6 separate regions of the Homo sapiens genome follow, and all the other regions are linked to region 3. Evidence: promoter capture Hi-C in human tissues and cell types (Jung and others, 2019). All regions are on one chromosome and are shown on one strand. The core of a region is centred on a gene start or on the middle of the fragment in contact, and the rest is flanking DNA. Distances in the headings are between cores, read along the strand shown. Region 1 overlaps EML5 (EMAP like 5). Region 2 overlaps DGLUCY (D-glutamate cyclase). Region 3 holds the start of EFCAB11 (EF-hand calcium binding domain 11). Region 4 overlaps EML5 (EMAP like 5). Region 5 overlaps PTPN21 (protein tyrosine phosphatase non-receptor type 21). Region 6 overlaps EML5 (EMAP like 5).

Region 1 (4,253 bases), core at 836-3,335, 1.3 Mb before region 3:
AGACAGGGTCTTGCTCTGTCACCCAAGCTAGAGTGCAGTGGTGTGATCATGGCTTACTTGAGCTTTGACCTCCCACGCTCCAGACATCTTCCTGCCACAGCATCCCACGTAGCTGGGACCACAGGTGCACACCACCACACCCTGCTAATTTTTAAAATTTTTTTTGTAGAGACGGTGCCTCATCAGATTGGCTAGGCTGATCTTTAACTCCTGGCCTCAACTGATCCTTCAAACTTAACATCCCAAAGTGCTGGGATTACAGGCATAAACCACTGCACCCGGTCAATTAACTATTCTTTATATGAAGTGGCCTCCCAACCTCCCTTCCTCCTGTGCTTTCTTCTAGCCCATTATAAACTATCCAAGTCTCCTTTAAAATGTAGAGATCAGTACTGAGTAAGCTATTCTAGATGTGAGGCTAGATCCGGGTGCTTTATTTCTGGTAAAATAGTATAAGATTTTATGGCCCATTTTAGAGGTTGCTTCATACTCTGAACTCATATCTTTGTACACACCACTCTGCTTAAAACAGATGATGGATTCCTGCTGTAGATATAATATTAACAGGTGCCTATTATTTGAGTTTCTGCACCATCTGGTCTCAAGTCTACTGTTTTCATCCTTATCTCCCAGCATTTTCCTAGTGATACCTTCCTCCCGCCACCCCCCACCCCCGAAACAGGGTCTTGCTGTGTTGCCCAAGCTGGAGTGTAGTGATGCCATCACAGCTCACTGCAGCCTCAAACTCCCAGGCTCAAGAGACCCTCTCACCTCAGCCTCCTGAGTAGCTGGGACCACAGGGCTGCCACCACACCCAGCTAATTTATTTTTACTTTTATTTTTTGTAGAGACAGGGTCTCATCATGTTGTCTAGGCTGGTCTTGAACTCCCAGGCTCTAGCAATCCTCTCACTTCGGCCTTCCCAAGTGCTGAGATTACAGGCCTGAGCCACAATTACAGGCCTGAGCCACCGTGCCCAGCCATGATACCTTTTTTAATTTATAAAACAGACTAGCCATTTCCACACTGTCGTTTCAGAAACTCTTTCAAGACATTTTCACATCACCAAAGGTAGATATAAAAGTAACCCAAAGAGTCTTTACCTACATGTCATTTTATTAAACATACAAATACCATAGTTACCCTCTTTTCATCTTTTTAAATGAATGGATTAAACATGCATTAAATCATGTTAACAGGTTTAAAATTGAATAGTCTTTCACTTAAATATATGTGTGGTTAGGTTTGTTTTTACGAGCCTCTGAAACTTAAAGAAAACCAAAACTATTCATTTGCATTGTAGTAGTTTGTACAGTCATATGTAAAACAATTTATCATAATGAAGACCCTTATAATAACAACCATATATGCTATCTAAAAATGCAACTCTTTTATAGAATTTGTCCTACTTCATTTTATAATGCTTTGTTGACAAATGTAGTTAAATGTTTTATAGGGAAAAAATACCTTAAAATACCATAAAGAATAAAATAAAGGGTAAATTTTTGAATAAAATATTTTCTTTTATAAAACACTTACCTTACTACTCCCTGCCTTCAAAAGGAGCAAGGGGGAAAAAAGTAGGAAAACATATAAAAATTGATGATGAATAGAATACAGCATTTTAGCAAACAGAAGAAAGGCAACATGTCAACAGAATTTTAAGGAAATACAAAAATGTCTAACTTATGTCACATTGGTTTAAACATTGATTTAAATATTTTTATTCACAAATACTGGAAATTTGACAAAAATTAACTACTTTAAATACATAATATTTGTTATAAAAACATTTATTGGCTGGGCAAGGTGGCTCATGCCTGTAATCCCAGCACTTCGGGAGGCTGAGGTGGGTGAATCACTTGAGGTCAGGAGTTCGAGACCAGCCTAGCCAACATGGTGAAACCCCGTCTCTACTAAAAATAACAAAAAATAACTGGGCGTGGTGGTGCCTGCCTGTAATCCCAGTTACTCAGGAGGCTGAGGCAGGAGAATCATTTGAACCCAGGAGTTGGAGGTTGTAGTGAGCCAAAATCGTGCCACTGCACTCCAGCCTGGGCGACACAGCAAGACTCTGTCTCAAAAGAACAAAACAAAACAAAAAAATAAAAACAAAAACATTTATTAAAAAAGAAAAAGGTAAAATTATCACTTAGGAAAAACATCCACGAAAGTATCAACCAAATAGAATGGTTATTGTCATCAGAAGCATTTTTCCTTTTAAGTGGATATTTGATAAGTATTTAATTGTTTTTAATTTTTTTTTCATTTATTTATTCTCCCAGAGACAGGATCCCACTCTGCTGCCATAGCTGGAGTGCAAGGGTGCGATCATAGCTCACTGCAGCCTCCAACTCCTGGGCTGAAGCAATCCTCCTGCTCAGCCTCCTGAGTAGGAACCTCCTGGTACAGGCATGTACTACCATTCTTGGCTAATTTTTCTATTTTTTGTAGAAATGGGGTCTTGCTGTGTTACCCAGGCTGGTGCTAAACACCTAGTCTCAAGCAGTCCTCCCACTTCAGCCTCCCAAAGCACTGAGATTGCAGGCATGAGGCACAGCACCTGGCCTGTTTTCCATATAAAGTGCTTTATTTCATATTTATGACAGTAATATATGTTACTAAAAAGCAATTATTTAAATAAACCATGAACCATATTATCTCCTCACAAATATTCTAAGTTGGTAAAAGAGATATGAACCTCTTCATTTGTAATCTCCTTTGATTTTTTTTCATTTTGTGAAAATGAAATCACATTGATGACTTCTGCCTTGTCATTTTCTTTTTTTTTTTTTTTTTTTTTTTAAGGCAAAGAGTAGAGCTTGGACTCTGCCACGGGGGCCAACAGACCCTCTCTCTCCCTCCCCACACCTTGTCATTTTCAAAATATTTAGCAGGGTTGAAATTGTAAAGTAAATTGAGAACAAAATGCAAAGCAATTTGAAAAATTACTTTGAAAAAGTTAGCTGCAGAATATACAAGCTAACATCAAAGATTTCAGTTATGACAGTGTTAATCATTCTTCATGAGTAGTAAAATATTTCCATCTGTCAGAACATGCCTCACTTCAGCAATGGGTGGAAATTTACATTTAAGTGTTTTACCGTGAATGAAGCAGACTACAGATTAAAATTAGGTCACATTTTCTGACATACCAAATTTATCCAATAAATAATTTTTTTAAAAAATCAATATAACAAATGAAAGAAATTTATGGGAATGTCTAGAGCCCCTTCTTCCCCATAGAACACTTTTCACTTTTCATTACTTAGGAGACATAATTTTCCTTAAGTCATATTAAACACTACACTTCAAATATTCTAATTAGAATATTTAAATAATATTATATTTTCATATTTATCTGTATTTATCTAATAAATACATATGTAGCGCTTATTGCTTTGTGAATATTTAATTTCAGAAATAATGTTTAAGTATTTACCAGGTATCTCCTCAGTTAACTTTCATTTCATTCCAAGGGATAAGGTGTCATTAATGAAGACCTACTATCTAAATTCTTGATTTACATTATTTCATTTAAAACTTGAAATATACCATAAGTTAGGGATTATAATGTTCATTTTGCCACTGAGGAAACTGAGGTTCAGAAAGAATGAATAATTTTTCAAACTCACACAACTGGTAATGAAAAAAATGAGTATTTTACCCATTTGTCTGACTCCAGAATTCATGTCCTTTGCACTATACGATGCTGCATTCTAGCAAGTTACTTGAAACATGGAATTCTGTACAAGTACTTAGATTATGGTATACTGTGCTTTCTTAAAAATATCCCTAATTTAATACTTTGCCTCTTTATACATAATGAAAAACTGGATGATCACTCTCCATCCCCTTTCCTTAGGTGACCTCCCATTGCTATGATCTGAGGTACATGAGGTATACCATCAGCAAACGACACCTGGAAAAGGAGCTGAGGAGGCACTGCGCCCTTAACACTCCATCTAGACTTCCCTGGCAACGCGGGGGTCAGTCAATTTACAAGATCTCTCAGTTCTCCCTTCCCCATTACTAACGTGTTTTTCACCTTAACTTCATCCCTTTCCCCGAATATAAAATCCATAGGTGCAAACTCAAATCCCTCTGACGAAGCTTTCCTGTAGTCATTTCTATCTCTCTGAGTTCCAAAATTCTTCAGCACTATCCTAAATGGCCACAAATTCGCTTGAATTTTCTACAAATCCTGTTCAACTGTGAATGAATTCCCTTTTAATTTCTCCCTCAAATTGTCC
Region 2 (3,945 bases), core at 867-3,366, 1.2 Mb after region 3:
AGCCTCAGGCCACACACATTGTCCCCAAGACAAGGCTGATGCGGCTAGTAAGCCTCTTGTTTTTGAAGGTCACAAACAACAAAAACATGGAAACTCAGAATGGAAGGGGGCCCATGAGAGCAATCTTGAGGCATAACAACAGCTGCAGAAGGTGACTGCAGGGAAGCGGACTGTGCTCCTATTCTTTATGTTCTGTTTTTAGCTGTGTTTTTCAGAGCAAGTAGGTACCATGGTGATAGGTACCATAGAAATAGATGGAGCGCACCACCCAGCACGGGGCTGCCAAGCTGTTCCCCTGGAAATGCACCGAGAGCTGCCAGGGAGAGCCCAGGGACTCTGCTTCCTGGGGCCTGTCAGCTGCACGGCCAGGGAAGAAGTCCCCTGTAGAATGGTCCCCAGAGGCTTCTCACTGTCTTGCTGTCATTGTCCAAGGTCCCTGATGGTGCATCCTCCTCCTGGAGCACCTGTGGCCTTCCTCTCTGAGTCCTCAGGAAACTCACTTAAGGGGGTTTGCCTTTGCCTAGTGAAGCAATTATCTTGGCCAACAGTGACCTCAAAAGTAGCACTGCCAGCATTCCTGTCTCCATAGTTAGGAGTGCGTGGTCCTCATCCTGCCTGGATGTGGCACTGTCACTGGTTTTATGCAATGTCATAAAGAATTTGTGGGGCAGGAGCTGAGTTCTGAACATTTGGTAATCAGGAATACTCATAAAATGAAATTTCAGAGGATCTAACCCAGAAAGCCGAGCAAGGTAGGGCATAACCACGTCTGATATGGTGGTTTTCAGTTTGTGAAGCCACAGGCAGTACAGAATAGGGCCCAGCCTCAACTATTTTTGGATGCAGCTTGAATGGACTGAAAGACCCTTTGAAACAAGTGCTGGAACCATCCCGTAGCACTTACATAACCATCTCTGCAAGGCTGTTGATAGATGAATGTAAATGAACCTAGGCAGAGCTTAGCTCATTTTTATTTAGATTTAGACCAATTTCATGTCTTCTGAAACGTAACCCATATATACACACACTAAATCTAACTCTTTTATTTTAGGCCTAGCATGAGAGGATCAAGTTGAAAGGGCATCTGTTATTATATCTGTCCCATCATATCTGCTTCTGTGATGGCTTTATTATGTACATTTCTTTCTATACATTTGTGCTCTCAGGTGGCATTCTTCTTCAGAGCAGGGCAAGTGTAATTCTGGACCAATGTGTGATTCTGAGACCAGACCAACCAACTGAAGGTAATTTTATTCTCAATTAAAGAAACACAGACGGGGCGCAGTGGCGCACGTGAGCCTGTAGTCCCAGCACTTTGGGAGGCTGAGGCAGGTGGATCACTTAAGGTCAGGAGTTCAAGACCAGCCTGGCCAACATAGTGAAACCCCATTTCTACTAAAAATACAAAAATTAGCCAGGTGCAGTGGCACGCACCTGTAATCCCAGCTACTTGGGAGGGTGAGGCAGGAGAATCGCTTGAACTAAGTAGGTGGAGGTTACAGTGAGCCAAGATTGCACCGCTGCACTCCAGCCTGGATGGCAGAGTAAATCTCTGTCTCAAAAAAGAAAGATACACACATCTCTAACAAAGGATTTTTTTTTTTTCTTGAGACAGGATCTCTCTCCATCACCCAGGCTGGAGTGCAGTGGCTCCATCTCGGCTCACTGCAACCTCCACCCCCAAGGCTCAAGCGATATTCCTACCTCAGCCTCCCAAGTAGCTGGGACCACAGGTGTGTACCACCATGCCTGGCTATTTTTTTGTATTTTTAGTAAAGACAGGGTCTCACCATTTTGCTCAGGCTGGTCTCGAACTCCTGAGCTCAAGCGATCCACCCACCTTGGCCTCTCAAAGTGCTGGGATTATAGGCATGAGCCACTGTGCCTGGCTAGGAATTTATTTTAACAACCAAAAACTTAAAACTCAATAACATCATTAACTCATAAATTATTGTTTAGTTACAGATTACGAAAATGATAGAACCAGAAGGTGCTAACAAAATGTCTGTCCTGCATGTGTGGCATTTGACATGAAGAAACTGAGGCCCTTGCTGGGCGCAGTGGCTCATGCCTGTAACCCCAGCACTTTGGGAGGCCAAGGCAGGAGGATCACTTGAGCTCAAGAGTTCAAGACCAGCCTTGGACAAGATAGTGAAACCTTGTCTCTACCAAAAAAATACAGAAGTTAGCCAGGCATGGTGCAGTGTACCTGTAGTAGCAGCTACTGAGGAAGCTGAGGTAGGAGGATCGCTTGATCCCAGGAGGTCAAGGCTGCAGTAAGCCGTGATTGTGCCACTGCACCCCAGCCTGGGCGACAGAGTGAGACCCTGTCTCAAAAAAAGAAAAGTAAAGGCTACGCGCGGTGGCTCATACCTGTAATTTCAGCACTTTGGGAGGCCGAGGCGGGTGGATCACCTGAGGTGGGGAGTTTGAGATCAGCCTGACCAACATGGAGAAACCCCGTCTCTACTAAAAATACAAAATTAGCCAGGCGTGGTGGCGCATGCCTGTAATCCCAGCTACTCGGGAGGCTGAGGCAGGAGAATCACTTGAACCCGTGCGGCGGAGGTTGCTGTGAGCCGAGATGGTGCCATTGCACCCCAGCCTGGGCAACAAGAGCGAAACTCTATCTCAAAAAAAAAAAAAAGAAAAGAAAAGAAAAGAAAGAAACTGAGGCCCAAAGAGTTTGCATACTTTGCTATTAGTTCAGCCTGTCTTCTGTGTATGCAGGTGGTGTCTCTAGGTCGTTATCACTCTGGCAAATTCTCTCCCAGTGATGGAGATGTGTGGAGCCCCCAGTCTCTCCAACCAGGGAGTGGTGCTCATGGTGACCCTGAAGTAGGCTTGTGGGTCAGGCCGTTGGTTGAGCTGTGCAGTGCCAGAAGTAGCTAAACATCCTTAAAGGAACTGCCTAGTTTATCATTAGGACTAACCATGGAACCGATGACTCAGCGTTTACTGTTGGCAGTATCATACACTCAACCTGCATGTAGATTTCGTGCATCATATTTTGTGGTTACAGGAATTTGGCCTGATGGACCCGTTGCAGAAACTCTGTACTAAATAAGCAAACACGTGTGCTCTAGTTTTACAGGCCAAGCAAACTGTGAAACAGAAGGGTTGGCCTTTCTTGCCCTTAGCAGTCATACCTTGGACTTTTGCCACTTGGTTGGGTTGCTTTATTTGGCTAAGTAACTAAAAGCAGATTTACTTTGAAGAATGAGGTTCTCAAATATTCTAGAACTCTCTAAGAATGGACATTCACAGTCATGCTGGGCAGACAGAGTTATTCCCAAATTTTCAGAGTCATAAAGCTTATGTTTGGGCTGGGTGCGGTGGCTCACACCTGTAATCCCAGCACTTTGGGTGGCCGAGGCGGGCGTATCACAAGGTCAGGAGTTTGAGACCAGCCTGGCCAATATGGTGAAACCCTGCCTCTACTAAAAATACAAAAATTAGCCAGGCATGGTGGTAGGCACCGGTAGTCCCAGCTACTCAGGAGGCTGTGGCAGGAGAATTGCTTGAACCCAGTAGGTGGAAGTTGCAGTGAGTGGAGATTGCGCCGCTGCACTCCAGCCTGGGTGACAGAGTGAGACTCCATCTCAAAAAAAAAAAAAAAAAAAAAAAATCCAGTTTGGCCTGTGTGAAGCACCCACACAAAACCTTCCTTTCCCAATATTAGCGCCTTCCTGTGGAGCTGGAACAGGGGCCCCGGGGCTAGAATATTTGATATTCAAGACACACACTGAGTCTGGTGTGGTGCTTTTCAGCAACACATTGAAAAATTGTTGCTTTTCACACCAACAATTTGAAACTAAACATTTAATGTGAATGTTTCTTTTTTTTTGAGAGAATGTCTCACTGTCCCCCAGGCTGGAGTGCAGTGGTGCAATCGTGGCTCACAGCAGTCTTGACCTCCTGGGCTCAAGCAATCCTCCTGCCTCA
Region 3 (3,711 bases), core at 339-2,838:
AACTTATTCCACAGATATACAGCCACAAGGACATAAATGTGTGTATCATTGCAGCAATGTTGGCAGAAAAAAAAAAAAAACCCCACCTATATAACCCCAGACAGGAACCTGGCTAAAAAGAATATGCAACCATATTTTAAAATGCAGTAGTGGTGTGTGCTTTTAGGTTGATATATTGTTAAATGAGAAAAGCAAGTTAAAGTAGGCACAATATTTACCCATTTATGTTTTCAATAAAAGACTATGCATATGTATGTCATGGATAGAAAATTTCAGAATTACACAAAAAAACTGTTAATGGTAATCCCCTAGGAGTGGGACCCTCTGGTAGGCGGCGAGCGGATTTTATGCTCAACTTTATACCTTTCTGCACTGTTTTAATTTTTTGACCGTGGATGTATTTTATAAACAAAGCAACAAAAGTAAAACGAGAAAGAGACTATGTCATGTCCTATGTAAATTTCTCCTGTTACCAACACTCCCCTCTCAGTCTTCCCTCTTGGCACCTCTCTAGCATCTTGTATTTATAGTAGTTATTAGCAGCCTGGTGGTGAGATAGGCTTGTGTAGACTCCAGTGGAAAAGATTTCTACTTCATCTCTGGGCTGAGGTGTTAAGAGGAAGCTAAAATTCAGCACTGGACACATCTCTGAAATTGCTTATAAAGCAATTTATAAACATCCTAAGCTAGCCCTGTGAACTTTTCTTAGGATCCATTCACCTTTGATCGTCTACCCCATCCCCAAATATATAAGAAAGCTCTACCTTGGAGGGCTTGTACCCAAACAGCATTACAACAGCAGTTTTAAAGTCCTCTCTGCTGAGATATCCTTTGTGATCTTCATCACATGCTTTAAATACCTGAAGAACATTAAATAGCTTTAGTTAATGAGACAGAAATGGTTTATTTTTATTACTAGTTTATTATACAGTTTGGACCTCGAAAATCTAAAACTTGGCCCAGCGGTAGAGTATGAAAATAGAATTTCATTATCCCAATATTAATTCTCAAGAAATCTTAAAGATGGACTGAAATTTTCTTAAACATGGGCTGAAATTTCCCTCAAAGTGCAAACGAGTTAACCGCTAGGTGACGCAAATTAATTCATTTAGGCCACTGAGATAAATTCTACCCAAAATTCAGTCCTGGAGTTAGGAAGGTGAGGCAAAGGGGCTGGCTTTGAAAGGCGGGAGAGATGCAGACTCAAGGTTACCATTAATAGACTATATAGAGAGAAAGGAGATGGAACTTGGAGGTAGCCGTAGTCCTGGACGGGGAGCCAGGAGCCCTGCAGCTCCAGGATCAGTCATTAACCACGACCCTTTGGACAGGCAGCCCAGGTCTTATCTGCACACCCGGCAGAGTGAGACCCAGACACGGGAGAGGAAGCGAGAGGCCCAGGCCAAGCTGAAGTCCGAGGCTCAGTCGCCCTCCGGAAACCTACTTCCACCCACTTCCTGTGTTCCGAGGGACTGGCTTCCCACGTCCGCGACCTGGCTCTGGCCTCGGAGAAGAACATCGCGACTACAACAACCGAGCCCCAGCAACCCAACCAGCTACCACCGCTTTCCCAGCCTGGCTGGCAGCCTACCGCGGCCACGCCCACCGCGGCTCAGGAAGCCGAACTTCACCGCGCAACTCCGACGTCTCCTCCCATTGGACAACCTGCCAGCCACTCGCGTTAATCCCGCAGGGCTATTGGCCAGAGTCTTTGTTTAATTACGTTTCCTTGGAGCCGCCCTGGCAGTGAGGCGCCCAGGCCTGCCCCCAGCACTTGGCTCCACCCCCTGACTGTCCCTTAACTCGTTGAGCGCGGCTGGAAATCCAAGCGCTTCTAGGTGCTGGTTCAATGCCTGGTTCATGATTTATTTCATTCTCTCCCTCCATCTTGCAATAGGTTACTTTTAATCATTTAGATCTATGACACTATGCTAAACGTTATAGGAGACAAAAAGACTGTGAACAAACAAGAAGAACCAAACGAAAAGAGCCAAGTCCAGGATTCTCGTTCAGATCAGCAAGTCATTGGGATCGAGCTCCTAGGGCAGCTACTACATCTGTTATGTCCTCAAGATAATCCCAGCACCTAGCACTGTGCCTGGCACAAAGTAGATCTTCAATGAAAGAACGAAACGAGCCGTTATATTTACACAGATGTATTTCACTCAGTCCTCTGGAAGAGATGCCTAGTGTGAAAGAGATTCCAAGAATAAATACCATAAACAGCACCGAGCCCAAATCCCACAGCAAACATCCTTATTAAAGGCAAGGAACGTGGGGCGAGTTCCTTTTCTCAGAAGATTTTACGAGAACGCAACTGTTGCGAAGAAGGAACAGACATTCGAGGTTCTGAGTCCAATGGGAACTCATTTAACTTTTTATTTTGCAGCAGATTTCAAAGTCTGCACCCAGCCCCTCCCAGGACACAGGTCTCCTTGCAGCTGCCTTTAACCTAAGCGTATCCTCTCTCCACTTTAAACCAAACGCCGCTGCATGGAGCCCTGGGAGCCTGAGCCATGAGAATCCTGTAAAGAGGGTGAGTCTTGCTATTAGTTAACTAGAGCGAAGTTAGGGGACGCCTTTCTGGTTCTCCTCTCGTTTTAAGAAGTCTCCAGGAAGTAAGCCAAGAGCTAGGAGAGACCAGGTTTCCCCAGCCCCGTCCTGGGTAAACACCCGGCGGGCTTTAGGACCCAGCGGTGGGCTCTCCGGAAGGGGAAGGGGCCGGGCCTCGAGGCACAAGCCGCTGCCGCCAGGGTTTGAACTGCGCGCATGCGCGGCGGCCGCCGAAGGGGCGGGATCCGAGGCAAGCGTTGGTTCTGTGCGCCTCAGGTACGTGTTGGGCGGCAGTGGGCGCGGACTCGGTGCGGTCTCTCGCGGGCTGCGGTCGGGCCCGGGATCCTGCTCCTGGCCGAGTCGCGGTGCGCGGGCTGCTGGGGTCCGGCAGGGCTGGAGGCGGACCGCGAGGAAGCGGCGCGGCCGGGAAGATGGGGCAGGGTCGCCTCGGCCCCGGGGCCTCGGTTTCCTCCGATCACAGCGCCTCAGGGGGCGCGCACGGGCGCTGCGGAGACCTGTGTCCTGCCGGGGCGCGGCGCTAGGGGCCCCTGCTCGGGTTTTTATTCCCAGACCTAAGCTTACAGGTGCGTGGTCCCAGAAAGTGAGTAGGAAAGCGCCCACCACGTGCCAGGCGCTTAAGCTTTCTGTGCTCGGTTTCCCAGTATAGGAGGACGGTCACGGTACGTAGTATAGAGTTGTCCTGAGGGTGAAGCGAGTTTACACTTGGTGAGGCGCTTCGAATCGTGCCTGGCCGGCCCCAAATGAGCACGCAGTAAGGTTAGCAGCTGCTGCCGTCACTTCCTCACGTTCTGAATCTGCTCCGTCCCCAACGCCTTCAGCAAGAGCCCTCTCACTTCCTTTGTCTTCAACCCATTCTCCGCAGAGTTGGAGCACACAGCTGTATTAAAAAGGCAAATCGAAGGCCGGGCGCGGTGACTCACGCCTGTCATCCTAGCACTTTGGGAGGCCGAGGCGGCTGAATCACTTGAGGTTAGGAGTTTGAGATCAGCCCGGGCAACATGGTGAAACCCCGTCTCTACAAAAATAGAAAAATTAGCCGAGCGTGATGGTGGATGCCTGTAATCCTAGCTCCTCGGGAGGCTAAGGTAGGAGAATTGCTTGAACCTGGGAGGCAGAGAGGTTGGAGTGAGCCGAGAT
Region 4 (4,076 bases), core at 49-2,548, 1.2 Mb before region 3:
TAAGAATAAGGGGTTTGAATCAGATTATTTTTAAAATATGCTATGCTTTCCTTAGGTTTCTGAAAAGAAATCTACATAAAACTTAGATTAAGCCAGGCACAGTGGCTCATGCCTGTAATCCCAGCATTTTGGGAGAGCAAGGTAGGCAGATCACCTGAGGTCAGGAGTTCAAGACCAGCCTGGCCAATATGGCGAAGTCCCATCTCTGCTAAAAATACAAAAATTAGCCAGGTATGGTGGCGCATGCCTGTAATCCCAGTTACTCGGGAGGCTGAGGCACAAGAATCGCTTGATATCAAGAGGCAGAGGTTGCAGTGAGCCAAGAGTGTACCACTGCACTCCAGCCTGGGCGCAGAGTGAGACTCCGTCTCAAGAAAAAAAAAAATTTTAGGTTAAAAAGTTGGGAATCGGTTAGCAATGAAAATGAAGGTAAGTCATCATAGACTAAGAAGAAGAAAAAGGACCAAATCTAACATACTCTCTCTGATAGAAACATTAAGGATAGGAAAAAAAGAGTATGCTACAGCTCACGGTAACTGCAGCTCACTGTAACTATAATATTTGATATTTTCAAAGCTGAGCAATTGCTTTGCTTGTAAAGCTTAAAAAAATAAGATAGATGTCCATGTGGAATGATTTGTTCATTCTTGGGAGAAAATAAGAAGTTAACCATGAATCTTCATTACCAGGGCTTTTGTTCTATTAGGTGGAATTAGGTAAATTTTTATAGTTCACGGAGAGAAATTTAAAGAAAAAGGAGTTGGGGGGAAGTGGACACAGTGGCAAACGCCTGTAGTCTCAGCAACTTGGGAGGCTGAGGTGGGAGGATGGTTTGAGGCCAGGAGTTTGAGGCTACAGTGAGCTATAAATCACACCTGTGAATAGCTACTGCACTCCAGCATGGGCCACATGGTAGGATCCCATCTCTAAAAAATAAACCAAAAAAATGGGACAGGGCAGAGATACATACATTAAATAGTTCTGCATAAAGAAATTAGGCCCAAAGAAAAAATTCAACTTTGTAATAAGTAATTAACATTTAAAATAATTTATTATCATATATTCTTATTTTAAAATTTGAAGCCTCAAAGAACTAAAAATTATGATCATTATCTATTCAAAGATCTAATGAGTACTTTAATTAAACTTTGTAATTTTTAAACTTAAAATCTCCATAATTTGTGTACATAAGTGGCTTGTTTTCTTTCTTTCAGCATGTCCTAATTTGAATCCATTATTTTCTTCTAGATCAGTGATTCCCAATGTTAGCTTCACATTAGAATCACCTGGGAAATCATAAAATGGGATGCCTGGACTCCCAATTGAGATGAACTGAGACAGAATCTCTGAAGCATGAAGCCCAGGTACCCAAATTATTTTGATGCTCAGCAAGGGTTAAGAACTATTGTTCTAGAATCCAAATCAATATTGACCAATAGAAATTTCAGTGATGATGAAAATATTACACACACACACACGCTTTCCAATACAGTAACCACTACTAGATACATAAGCATATGAAATGTACTGCTAGTGTGACTGAGGAAATGAATTTTAAGTTTCATTTAACTAATTTGTGTTTAAATAGCTATGTATGGTTGGACAGTGCAGTTCTAGATCATCTCTGGGAATTAATTTCCTCACATGTATTGCCTGCAAAGAGAACTATGTTACTATTCATTTCTTCTAGCAAAGGGAAAGAAATGTAACTCATTATAAAAATATAGTTTATTTAGTTTGAGATAAGCTTTTTATAAAAACCTGAAAATGGAGCCTTTAGCTTTACTTACAATATAAAATAGTAAGATCTCCTTATTCATAATTAATTTGCCAATCACTTATTAAGCACTTAATATATATCAAGTACCATATCAAACACACTGTCCATCAAAGATGAACAAGACAAAAATACCTTCACAGTGCTTATATCATGTGCCTTAAAGCCCAGCATACAGCCTTTTTGGTATTAAATATTTGTCAAAAAATAAATATTTACTACTATCCATCAATCAAATCAATACCAGAATAACAAATCAAGAATTGCAGCAGCAGTGAAAGATGCACTGGAGAAAACGTGGATGGAGTTAGGCATATTGAAATAAAGAATGTGAACACAGAACCTTAATTAATTCACTAGGAATTAACTGTTACCAGGAACTGTTACATCAGACAGTGGAAGTAAAGCAAGTTAATTCCAATTTGTTCCAATGATTTAAAAGTAACTATAAACATAATAATGAATATCACCACTGACTTTACAGGCTTCAAAATCTGAGCTGTAATTATAAAACAAAACCCAGAGCTTTCATAAGCAAAGTAAATAGTGGCTATCAAGGCTGAGAGAGGGACAAGGAGAGATTTGTTAAAGGATACAAAATTGTAACTAGAGAGGAGGAATAAGTTCTACTACTCTATACCACTGTAGAATGAGTATAGGTAATATGAATACACAGTTTCAAATAGCTAGAAGGAGGATATTGAATGGTCCTAAAACAAAGAAATAGCAAATGTTTGGGATGATAGCTAATTACCCTAATCTGATCACCATACATTTTTATGTATCAAAACATCACTATGTACCCATGAATATGTACTATCATTATTTGTCAAAAAAAAAATTTAAAGGCTGAGGTCAAATCAGGGAGCAAATATAGAAAAAGGAAAAGCAACACTTTCAGAAAGCAGACCATGTGTTAGGCACTATGACAAGCACTTGAATATACACTGCCGCCTTATTTAATCATCAATTCTTTGAGGATGGTAACAGCAGTCACAGTTTTAAAATGTGAAAATAAAAGCTCAAAGAGGTTAAATAACTCATAGCAGGTTAAACAGCTAATAAATGGCAAAGCCAGGTCTACTCATGTTGCTTCTCCCACACCATTCTATGTAAATGAAAAACTCTTCATTTCTTTCCTATTCTCAACATTTTACTTTGTAAGTGAAACATGAAGAAACAGGATGGACACAGTAAATCCTGCCTCACTAGACTACAGATTTCTTTATGGAATGTGGCTTATTAATTTCCTATTCATACCTATATTCCTTACAATAGTTCAAAGCAAATAATATATATATTTGTTTGACTGAACATAAGAACAATAAAAACATTGCCATTTTAAAAATAAGTACTATCAAAATTCTGAAAGTAGGCTAAATTGTTAACAGTGCAATATATACTTAGCAGCAGAGAACTAAACGTGACTATTATAAAACAAGACCCTTCTAGTACCTTGATATGTTTTACACCACAGCTGACAAGTTTATTTGGCTGGTACAAATCCCAAGAAATATCAAATATCTGTAAACAAATCAGATTCATGATTAAAATACTTATTTCCAGAATCATTTAAAAATCCTGTCCAAAAGACCAAATGGCCCAAACTCCTAATCATAAAATAATATTCCTCAATAAATAATAATCAACATCCCACACTTCAAAATCTTATGAGAAATAAAGTAAATTTGAAAATGATAAGAAATAAAAAGCATTTCTTCATTTCTATGAACTTCAAACACTACTGGAGTAAAATTTAACACCTCTGTTTATTTTTAATTTTTAAAAAAATTTGGTCCATAAATAACAAGAATGGTTGAACAGAATTAGGACACGAAGGGAGGTGCTTGCATAATTTCTACAGAAAAGAGATTCAGAATGGAACGTGACACTTACACAGCCTAGAAATAAGAAACACCTTTATAGCTTTCTATCACTCAGAACTGTTTACATAAAGAATCCAAACACTGATTTTACAGTAATTTTTTTCACTGTTTAAAGGTCAAAGTTAACTCAAATTTTGGGGAGTCTCCAGGCTTCATTATTTTCTAAAATTCCATAAATTCTAAATACATGCAAAACATTTTGTTACAAAAGCAAACAAGCAAAAACCCAGGTGAAATAAAATACGAATGAGAAATGTAATTAAACAAATGATGAAAGAAAAACTAACATTTAAAAAATAATTCATTTATTCTGCTTTCTGGTAGTCGTCATGTTTCTTTGACACCTTATCAACCTACCTCTAAAAGGTTTACATTTTTGGTATACTAAAATGTACACTTCACATTTTGGTATA
Region 5 (4,136 bases), core at 373-2,872, 1.5 Mb before region 3:
TCGTCTCACTGAGCACCCAGTGGCTGCCACTGTGGATGAGTACCAGGTTATAACAGTGAATAAACACTAGGGAGGAGGAGGGGACTAGTGAGAAGCTGGCAGGGTAGGTGTCATCATTTATTTATTTCCATGTAAGTGAGATGAGGTCCCACAACACAGCTTATAAAGTGAGGTCCCACCTCATTTTAGATCTAGGCGTCAGACCCAGGTCTATCAAATTCTTTCCTCTATTCTGCAAGTGGCTGCTGAAGATTTTGAAATATCACTACAGAACTACAGTATCATTCATTCTTATCCATCTAGTCATGAGAGACTGGATGAGTTATTTCAAGGAAATGCTCGGTTTTTAAGTAAATTATGCTGATATTATATTTAAAAACAAAATAGTATGTGCATAGATTCCCAAAAGCCATCAAGGGGTACTGGCATTCACAGGCAGACTGCCAGTCTCCAGAAAGCCTTGGTGTCAGCTTGTTCCCTTCTCAAATAATACTTGCAAACTAAAGAAAAAAACCACCACCTGTCCACAGTTACTCATTCACTCACCATGAGATTTCTCCTTCCCAAAATAAAGAATTGAATGTGGCCAGCATGAACAAAGGGTACAATGAGGAAGAGGGAACATCTGGCTTTATTCCATCATGTGTTGTGAATCATCATTTTGTCCATTTTCATAGGAGTGATATTACCCCAGATAAGGTGCCAAGAACATACACTAGGGAAGGACAGCCTCTTAAATACATGGGACTGGGAAGACTGGATATCCATAAGCAGAAAAGTAAAACTGGACCCCCTATCTCTCACCATAAACATTACCCCAGTTTAATGGCATTATACTGGTTCCAGGAAAAAAGCACTTCTTCAAAGAAAAAAAATGATACTTAAAAATTATTATAAAGAGTATGTAAAGAGAACAGATGGCACCTTGGTAAGTTGAAAGCTTTTGTGAACACCATCAAAAAGCCCAGACACTTTTGTTACATAAAAATGCATGTCAGTATGTGATGAGGAAAAACTAGCAATTCAGTGGCTCCCAGAATTTATGAGCTAAAAAGAGGTCTTCAGATTTAGAAGGACAAAGTTCTAAAGCCAGGCAACACAAGGTCAAGGCTGTAGGGAGCCATGATCATACCACTGCACTCCACCTGTCTGGGCGACAGAGCAAGACTCTATCTCAAAAAAGGCAAAAGAAAAAAAAAAAAGCCGGGCAAATAAGTGCGCCCTGAGTCCTGGTAACAGTGTTGGGGGCAGAGTGGTTTCGCACATGGAGAGTAGACATGACTTTGGCTCTGTCTGATAGACGCTTTTTATCTAGCACTGGTATGTGGATTTCCCAGCTTGCAGTACAGTTTGTCACAAATGTTTAAAACTAGGGTGTTTATCTAAAACAATACAATAAAAATAAATTTTAAAATATCTGAATTCTAAACAGACATGAATACAATTCTTACCATTCTTGTAACTTAACTGAAACTGCATGTGCTGTTGATTACTTGAGGCGTTCCTCTCACCTTAATATGTGATGCGTTGATGTAACCAGTGTTGTTTTCTTTAGTTGGGACCAACTCCACTCTCACATCATCATAAGGAAGAACATCTTGGAATCGATTTCTTTCTGCATTTTCAGGGAGTCGTGCTGTTGAGCACTCCCCATCAACTAGCCGTTTCTTAAGAATTCTTTCATATTCTGTGAATACCATTCCTTGTTCTAATCGTTGTTCCAGAATTTTACACTATAAAACAGAATATGTGTAATAACATGAATACAGCCACACGTCGTGGCTACCTTTTGACTGTATATTTGAAATCTTGTTTTCTGCTTCAAATCTAGCACTGTATAATATTGAAAATTCTAGGTTGGGCACGGTGTCTCATGCCTGTAATCCCTGCACTTTGGGAGGCCAAGGAGGGAGGATCACTTGAGCCTAGGAGTTCAGGACCAGCCTGAGAAACACAGTGAGACCCCGTCTCTGCAAAAAATTAAAAAACGAGCCAGGTGTGGTGGTGCATGCCTGTGGTCCCATCTACTTGGGAGGATGAGGCAGGAGGATTGCTTGAGCCCAGGAGGTTGAGGCTGCAGTGAACCATGAGAACCTATCTCAAAAAAACCAAACCAAAACCAAAACAGAAACAAAATTCTAGGTGAAAATGAAGTTAAAATTTTAAAAAGCCACAACAACAAGAGTTAAAAGAACAAAAGACAATCATTTTGGTGAGAAATATAATGCAAACTTTTGTTTAAAGTTGAAAATTGGCCTAAAGAAATTTGTTGAATTCATTTTCTCTAGATCTGTGGTCAATTTTGTGACCCCTAATAGATGGAATTCTCCTGGGGAACAGTAAGTAAATCTAGGGGACGGATAATGAGTTCCAACAGCTATGAACAAATGTTTCCATTTTATGTCATACGATATATAAAAGACTAAAGCAGTAGGAAATATTCGAAACTACCTCCAGGATCCCGTTGTAAAGCAAATGTATGCCTATCTGATTTTGATGTAATAAAACCTCATAGAAAATACACCTCAGGCACAAAGGAAGTTTTGAAAAATTGAGAAACTACTCTCGAGATAAACTTTCAGTATAATAAAAGTCAATGTCTGCTGCTTTTCCCCTGTATGCTCCTGTATTTTTGTAGATTTCTTCTCACTTTAAGGCCATCAAAATCAAGACTGCTCCAAAAGGCCAGGAGAAGGTAAAAAAGAACACTGAGAAACAAACAAACAAAAAATCAGCATTCGAACCTGAAATTATCTATTAAGACATTAGCTATACATTTGCCCCAATTTTGAGGCCCATATTACAAAATTCCTTAACACTCATTTATTATTAAATTGTGTTAGAAAATTCACCAAAATCTCATGAAGGCATTTGCGTAGTATTTACCGGTTGTTCCAGAGAAGGCACAAAGCCCTGTGTGTCCCATACATACCCTTTCATCATTCGTTGCTCTGGTAGCCACTTCCTTTCCTTCATCAGGCAGAGGCACTCGAGATAGGGAGAGTCCATTTAGGGCAGCCAGTTTAAGAGGACCAATTTTTTTTGCATCTACTCGAGTCTTTTTCATTCCCTGTAAAAGGATTTATATGTATATATGAAATATACACAAATACAACCCCTGTGAAAAGAAGTTTCAATGCACTGAAGACCAGGAACACACAGAGGGAGTGTTCTCCTTTGCCAATAAACCCAGAAAGATTACACTCCTTCACACACCACTTGTTTAACAAACATTAGTAGGAAGACATTCCTTTCAAGGCCAAAGCCCTGATAAAGTCTTCCAGATAGAAGGTTTTGAAACACTATTGGTTACAAAGTTCTGTTGTAATGAAAGGTGAGGCTCCAGGCAGACTGCATTCCTTTTAAAACAAGACAGACGTAACAAATCAGCTGAAGTCCAAAAAAAAAAAAAAAAAAAAAAAACAAAAGCTTTAAATGCAATCAATTGACTATAGTAAGCTTTTATAAATTTTTTTTTTGAGGGTCTCACTCTGTCACCCAGGCTGGATGGAATGCAGGGGCACCATCATAGCTCACTGCAGCCTCAACCTCCAGTCTCAAGCAATCCCACCTGAACCTCCCGAGTACCTGGGACTACCAGCACATGCCACCATGCCCAACTAATCTTTGTGTGTTTTGTAGAGATGGGGTCTCACTATGTTGCCCAGGCTGGTCTCAAACAACTGAACTTAAGCAGTGTTGGCCTCCCAAAGTGCTTGAGATTACAGGCGTGTGCCACCATGCCCGGACAGCTTTTTATAATTTTTAAAATATATAAATTCTTTAAGTCATTCTGAAAAATTAAATGGTTTCTGCAGCAGCCCCCTTTGTGTGTTAAGCCCCCTCCTCATATGCTACTCTGCATTCTAGTGCAGACTTAGATGACCCGGGTTAGATCACGCTACCTCTCAGAACGGCTACGTTTTTAAACAAGGAAAATAAAACAGGGCTAAAATCTCCATCATGACACCAGGAGGATAGGACAGAAGAGAAAGCATCAACAAAATCTTGTCTCCTGAAATCAAGTGTTTCCTAAAATTATTATTAGAGCATGATTTTCCTCTCTGAGAATAGTAAGCATAAGAACACTAAGTTGACCAGGTGCGGGGGATCACGCCTGTAATCCTAGCACTTTG
Region 6 (4,250 bases), core at 170-2,669, 1.2 Mb before region 3:
CACATGCCTGTAATCCCAGCTACTCGGGAGGCTGAGGCAGGAGAATCACTTGAACCCGGGAGGCAGAGGTTGCAGTGAGCTGAGATCATGCCATTGCACTCCAGCCTAAGCAACAAGAGTGAAACTCCATCTCGGGGGAAAAAAAAAGAAACTTACAAAGAGATTTAGACTCCCACACAGTAATAGTGGGAGACTTTAATACCCCGCTGTCAATATTAGATCAATGAGACACAAAATTAACAAGGATATTCAGGACTTGAACTCAGCTCTGGACCAAGCAGACCTAACAGACATTGACAGAACTCTCCACCCCAAATCAACAGAATATACACTCTTCTTAGCACCATATAGCACTTATTCTATAATTGACCACATAATTGGAAGTAAAACACTCCTCAGCAAATGTAAAAGAATGGAAATCATAACAAACAGTCTCTCAGACCACAGTGCAATCAAGTTAGAACTCAGGATTAAGAAATTCACTCAAAAACCATACAACTACACGGAAACTGAACAACCTGCTCCTGAGTGACTACTGGGTAAATAACAAAATTAAGGCAGAAATACGTTCTTTGAAACCAATGAGAACAAAGACACAACACACCAGACTCTCTGGGACACAGCTAAAGAAGTGTTTAGAGAGAAATTTATAGCACTAAATGCCCACAGGTGAAAGTGGGAAAGATCTAAAATCGACACCCTAACATCACAATTAAAACACTTAGAGAAACAAAAGCAAACAAATTCAAAAGCTAGCAGAAGACAAGAAATAACTAAGATCACAGCAGAACTGAAGGAGACAGAGAAGAAAACCCTTTCAAAAAATCAATGAATCAGGACCTGTTTTTTTGAAAAGATAACAAAATAGATAGACAGCTAGCAAGACTAATAAAGAAGAAAAGAGAGAAGAATCAAATAGACACAATAAAAAATGATAAAGAGGATATCACCACTGATCCCACAGAAATACAAACTACCATCAGAGAATACTATAAACAACTTTATGCAAATAAACTAGAAAATCTAGAAGAACTGGATAAATTTCTAGACACACACACCCCCCCAAGACTAAACCAGGAAGAAGTCGAATCCCTGAATAGACCAATAACAAGTTCTGAAATTGAGGCAGTAATTAATAGCCTACCAACCAAAAAAAAGCCCAGGACCAGACAGATTCACAGCCGAATTCTATCAAAGATACAAAGAGGAGCTGGTACCATTCCTTCCAGAACACTTCCAAACAATAGAAAAAGAGGGAATTCTCCCTAACCCATTTTATGAGGCCGGCATCATCCTGATACCAAAACATGGCAGAGACAAAACAAAAAAAGGAAATTTCAGGCCAGTATCCCTGATGAACATCGATGCAAAAATACTCAATAAAATAGCAGGATGTTTAATTAGAAGTGACAAGAATAGACACTCTGGTCTTTTTCCTGCTTTTACAAGGAAAACATTCAGTCTCTCACCATCAGGAATAAACTTAGCTGTAGGTTTTTACAGATGCTTTTATAGCCGGGTTAAAGAAGTGGACTTCTAGTCCTAGTTTGCTAAGCATTTTAAAAATATGAATAAGTATTAAATTCTGTCAAATGCTTTTCCTGTAACTACTGAGATAGTCACCTGGCTTTTCTTCTTTAGCAATTATATAGCGAATTACACTGATTAATTTTTAAATGTTGAACCAGCCTTGTATTCCTGGAATGAATCCTACCTGGAATGAAACCTGGTTATGATATATTATCCTACTGACGGATTTTATTTGCTTATTAGCTTATTTTGTTGAGAATTTTTACATCTATATTAATGAGGGACAGTTGTCTGTAGTTTCCTTTTCTTCAAATGTTTGTCTGGATTTTGTATTAGAGTGATGCCAGCCTCATAAACACAGTTGAGAAGTAGTACTTCCTCTTCTATTTTCTATAAGCAATTGTGTGGAATTGGAATCATTTATTCTTGTAAGTTTGGTAGTTTATATCTTTTGAGGGAATAGTTCATTTCATCTCAGTTGTCAAATGTATAAGTTGTTTATAGTAATCCCTTATTCTCCTTTTAACGTCTTTAGGTCAATAGTGATATCCTGATGAATACTGGTAATTTTTGTCTTCTCTTTTTTATTCTTGGTCAGCCTAGCTAGAAGTTTATCAATCTGATCCTTTTCAAAGAACCAACTTTAGGTTTTTCTCTATTGTTTCACTGTTTGCACTAATTGTCTTCATTATTTCCTACTTTGTTTGTTTTTGTGTTTGCTCTTCCATTTCTATTTTCTTAAGTCAGACTCCTAGATTACTGACCTGAGATTATTTTTCTTTTAAAAAATATGCATTTTAATGCTCCAAATTTCCCTTGAAACACTGCTTTGGCTGAATTTTACAAATTTTGATATGTTGTATTTTCACTTTCTTCTTCTTTTCATTTTCATAATATATTCTACTTTCCCTTCTGTTCTGTGTTACTGATTTTTATTTTGATTCCATTATGGTCAGAGAACATACTCTATATGATTTCAATTCTTTTAAATTTGTTAAGGTTTGTTTTATAATATATAGCCTATTTTGGTAAACGTTTTGGCACTTGAAAAGGATGTGCATTCTGCCATGACTAGCTCATGCTGTTTTCTATGCCATGAATAATAAAGTCCTTTGTCTCTAACCTAGGAATTTCACGTCTTTGCCAGCATCCAAAGAAAAAAGTAACATATTAGTTTGTAACAAGGGTATTATATTAGTTTTCTATGCTGATGTCACAAATTACCATAAATTTAGCACCTTAAAGCAATACAAGCTTATTATCTCCCAGTTCTGCAGGGCAGAAATCTGGTTAGTGTGGCTCAGCTGAGTCCTGTGCATACAGTCTCACAAGGCCAAAAGTCAAGGTGTTAACACAACTAAATTACTTTCTAGAGTCTCTGGGGATGAGTCAGCTTCCAAGTTCATTCAGAACGTTAGCTGAATTCAATTCCTTGTGGTAAAGGGACTGAGGCTTTCACTCCCCTGCTGGCTGTCAAGGGGGAACTGCTCACCTCCTCAAGGCCAACTGCATGCCTCATGATGTTACCACCTCCATCTTCCAATCAGCAACGGCACATTGAGTTCTTCTCAAGCTTTGAATCTTTCTGACTTCTGCTGCATGTTTTCTCATTCCAGCTAAAGAAAATTATTTGCTTTTAAGGGCTCACATAATTAGACTGGGCCCATCTAGATAATTCAAGATACTCTCAATATCTTAAGGTACATCCCTATCTTAATTATATCTGCAAAGTCATGTGTGCTTTGTTTAACATAAAAAATTCACAGGTTCCAGGAATTAGAGTATGGATATCTTTGGGGCCAGTCTGGCTACCATGCAGACTCAGAAATTGAGTCCCCTGGAGAATTATTTATATTTTTATATTTTCAGTTCTAAGTATTCCATTTTTCTACAACTTCTATTTCTTTGCTGAGAACTTCCAACATTCTATTTGTTTTAAGAACAGTTACTTCATGGCATACTGTTGTGGGAAGTCAGGGACCCCGAACGGAGGGACCGGCTGAAGCCATGGCAGAAGAACATAAATTGTGAAGATTTCATGGACATTTATTAGCTCCCCAAATTAATACTTTTATAATTTCTTATGCCTGTCTTTACTGCAATCTCTGAACATAAATTGTGAAGATTTAATGGACATTTATCACTTCCCCAATCAATACTCTTGCGATTTCCTATGCCTGTCTTTACTTTAATCTCTTAATCTCGTCATCTTCGTAAGCTGAGGATGTATGTCGCCTCAGGACCCTGTGATTATTGCGTTAACTGCACAAATTGTTTAAACAATATGAAATCTGGGCACCTTGAAAAAAGAACAGGATAACAGCGATGTTCAGGGAACAAGGGAGATAACCATTAGGTCTGGCTGCCTGAGAGCTGGGCGGAACAGAGCCATATTTCTCTTCTTTCAAAAGCAAATAGGAGAAATATTGCTGAATTCTTTTTCTCAGCAAGGAACATCCCTGAGAAAGAGAATGTGTTCCCAAGGGGAGGTCTCTAAAATGGCCGCTTTGGGAATGTCTGTCTTTTACAGTTGTGGATAAGGGATGAAATAAGCCCCGGTCTCCCATAGCGCTCCCAGGCTTATTGGGACGAGGAAATTCCTGCCTAATAAATTTTGGTCAGACCGGTCGTCTGCTCTCAAACCCGGTCTCCTGATGTTACCAATGACAATGCATGCCCAAAACTTCATTAGCAATTTTAATTTCGCCCCAGTCCTGTGA

What was found. Contacts are between HindIII fragments. The study calls those that stand out against the background at their distance.
Region 1: a fragment that was not itself captured here is called in contact with the fragment with the promoter of EFCAB11 in region 3 in 1 of the 25 tissues and cell types used here (lymphoblastoid cells).
Region 2: a contact is called between a fragment that was not itself captured here and the fragment with the promoter of EFCAB11 in region 3, in 1 of the 25 tissues and cell types used here (dorsolateral prefrontal cortex).
Region 4: a fragment that was not itself captured here is called in contact with the fragment with the promoter of EFCAB11 in region 3 in 1 of the 25 tissues and cell types used here (aorta).
Region 5: a fragment that was not itself captured here is called in contact with the fragment with the promoter of EFCAB11 in region 3 in 1 of the 25 tissues and cell types used here (lymphoblastoid cells).
Region 6: a fragment that was not itself captured here is called in contact with the fragment with the promoter of EFCAB11 in region 3 in 1 of the 25 tissues and cell types used here (lymphoblastoid cells).

What each region holds. Positions count from the first base shown.
Region 1 is chr14:88,648,373-88,652,625 of GRCh38, forward strand. It overlaps EML5 (EMAP like 5), which reads right to left. Exons shown (of 44, transcript NM_183387.3): 28 at 1,540-1,554. Among named protein-coding and RNA genes, the nearest start is that of ZC3H14, 87 kb to the left of the region's middle. The HindIII fragment of the contact is 5,237 bases long and covers 1-4,253 here.
Region 2 is chr14:91,146,615-91,150,559 of GRCh38, forward strand. All of the region lies in intron 1 of DGLUCY (D-glutamate cyclase), which reads left to right. Among named protein-coding and RNA genes, the nearest start is that of SNORA11B, 22 kb to the left of the region's middle. The HindIII fragment of the contact is 5,320 bases long and covers 1-3,945 here.
Region 3 is chr14:89,953,142-89,956,852 of GRCh38, forward strand. It overlaps EFCAB11 (EF-hand calcium binding domain 11), which reads right to left and starts at 1,589. Exons shown (of 6, transcript NM_145231.4): 1 at 1,445-1,589; 2 at 765-860. The coding sequence starts at 1,519. TDP1 (tyrosyl-DNA phosphodiesterase 1) reads left to right here and starts at 2,786. Exons shown (of 17, transcript NM_018319.4): 1 at 2,786-2,829; 2 at 3,437-3,659. RefSeq lists an enhancer at 1,318-1,818 and a silencer at 2,884-3,113. The HindIII fragment of the contact is 8,047 bases long and covers 1-3,711 here.
Region 4 is chr14:88,740,791-88,744,866 of GRCh38, forward strand. EML5 (EMAP like 5) reads right to left here. Exons shown (of 44, transcript NM_183387.3): 4 at 3,233-3,301. Among named protein-coding and RNA genes, the nearest start is that of EML5, 50 kb to the right of the region's middle. The HindIII fragment of the contact is 5,935 bases long and covers 1-4,076 here.
Region 5 is chr14:88,470,733-88,474,868 of GRCh38, forward strand. It overlaps PTPN21 (protein tyrosine phosphatase non-receptor type 21), which reads right to left. Exons shown (of 19, transcript NM_007039.4): 14 at 2,933-3,070; 15 at 1,512-1,733. Among named protein-coding and RNA genes, the nearest start is that of PTPN21, 82 kb to the right of the region's middle. The HindIII fragment of the contact is 3,644 bases long and covers 1-3,444 here.
Region 6 is chr14:88,762,378-88,766,627 of GRCh38, forward strand. The region is part of intron 1 of EML5 (EMAP like 5); the gene reads right to left. Among named protein-coding and RNA genes, the nearest start is that of EML5, 28 kb to the right of the region's middle. RefSeq lists a silencer at 3,935-4,135. The HindIII fragment of the contact is 3,048 bases long and covers 1-2,943 here.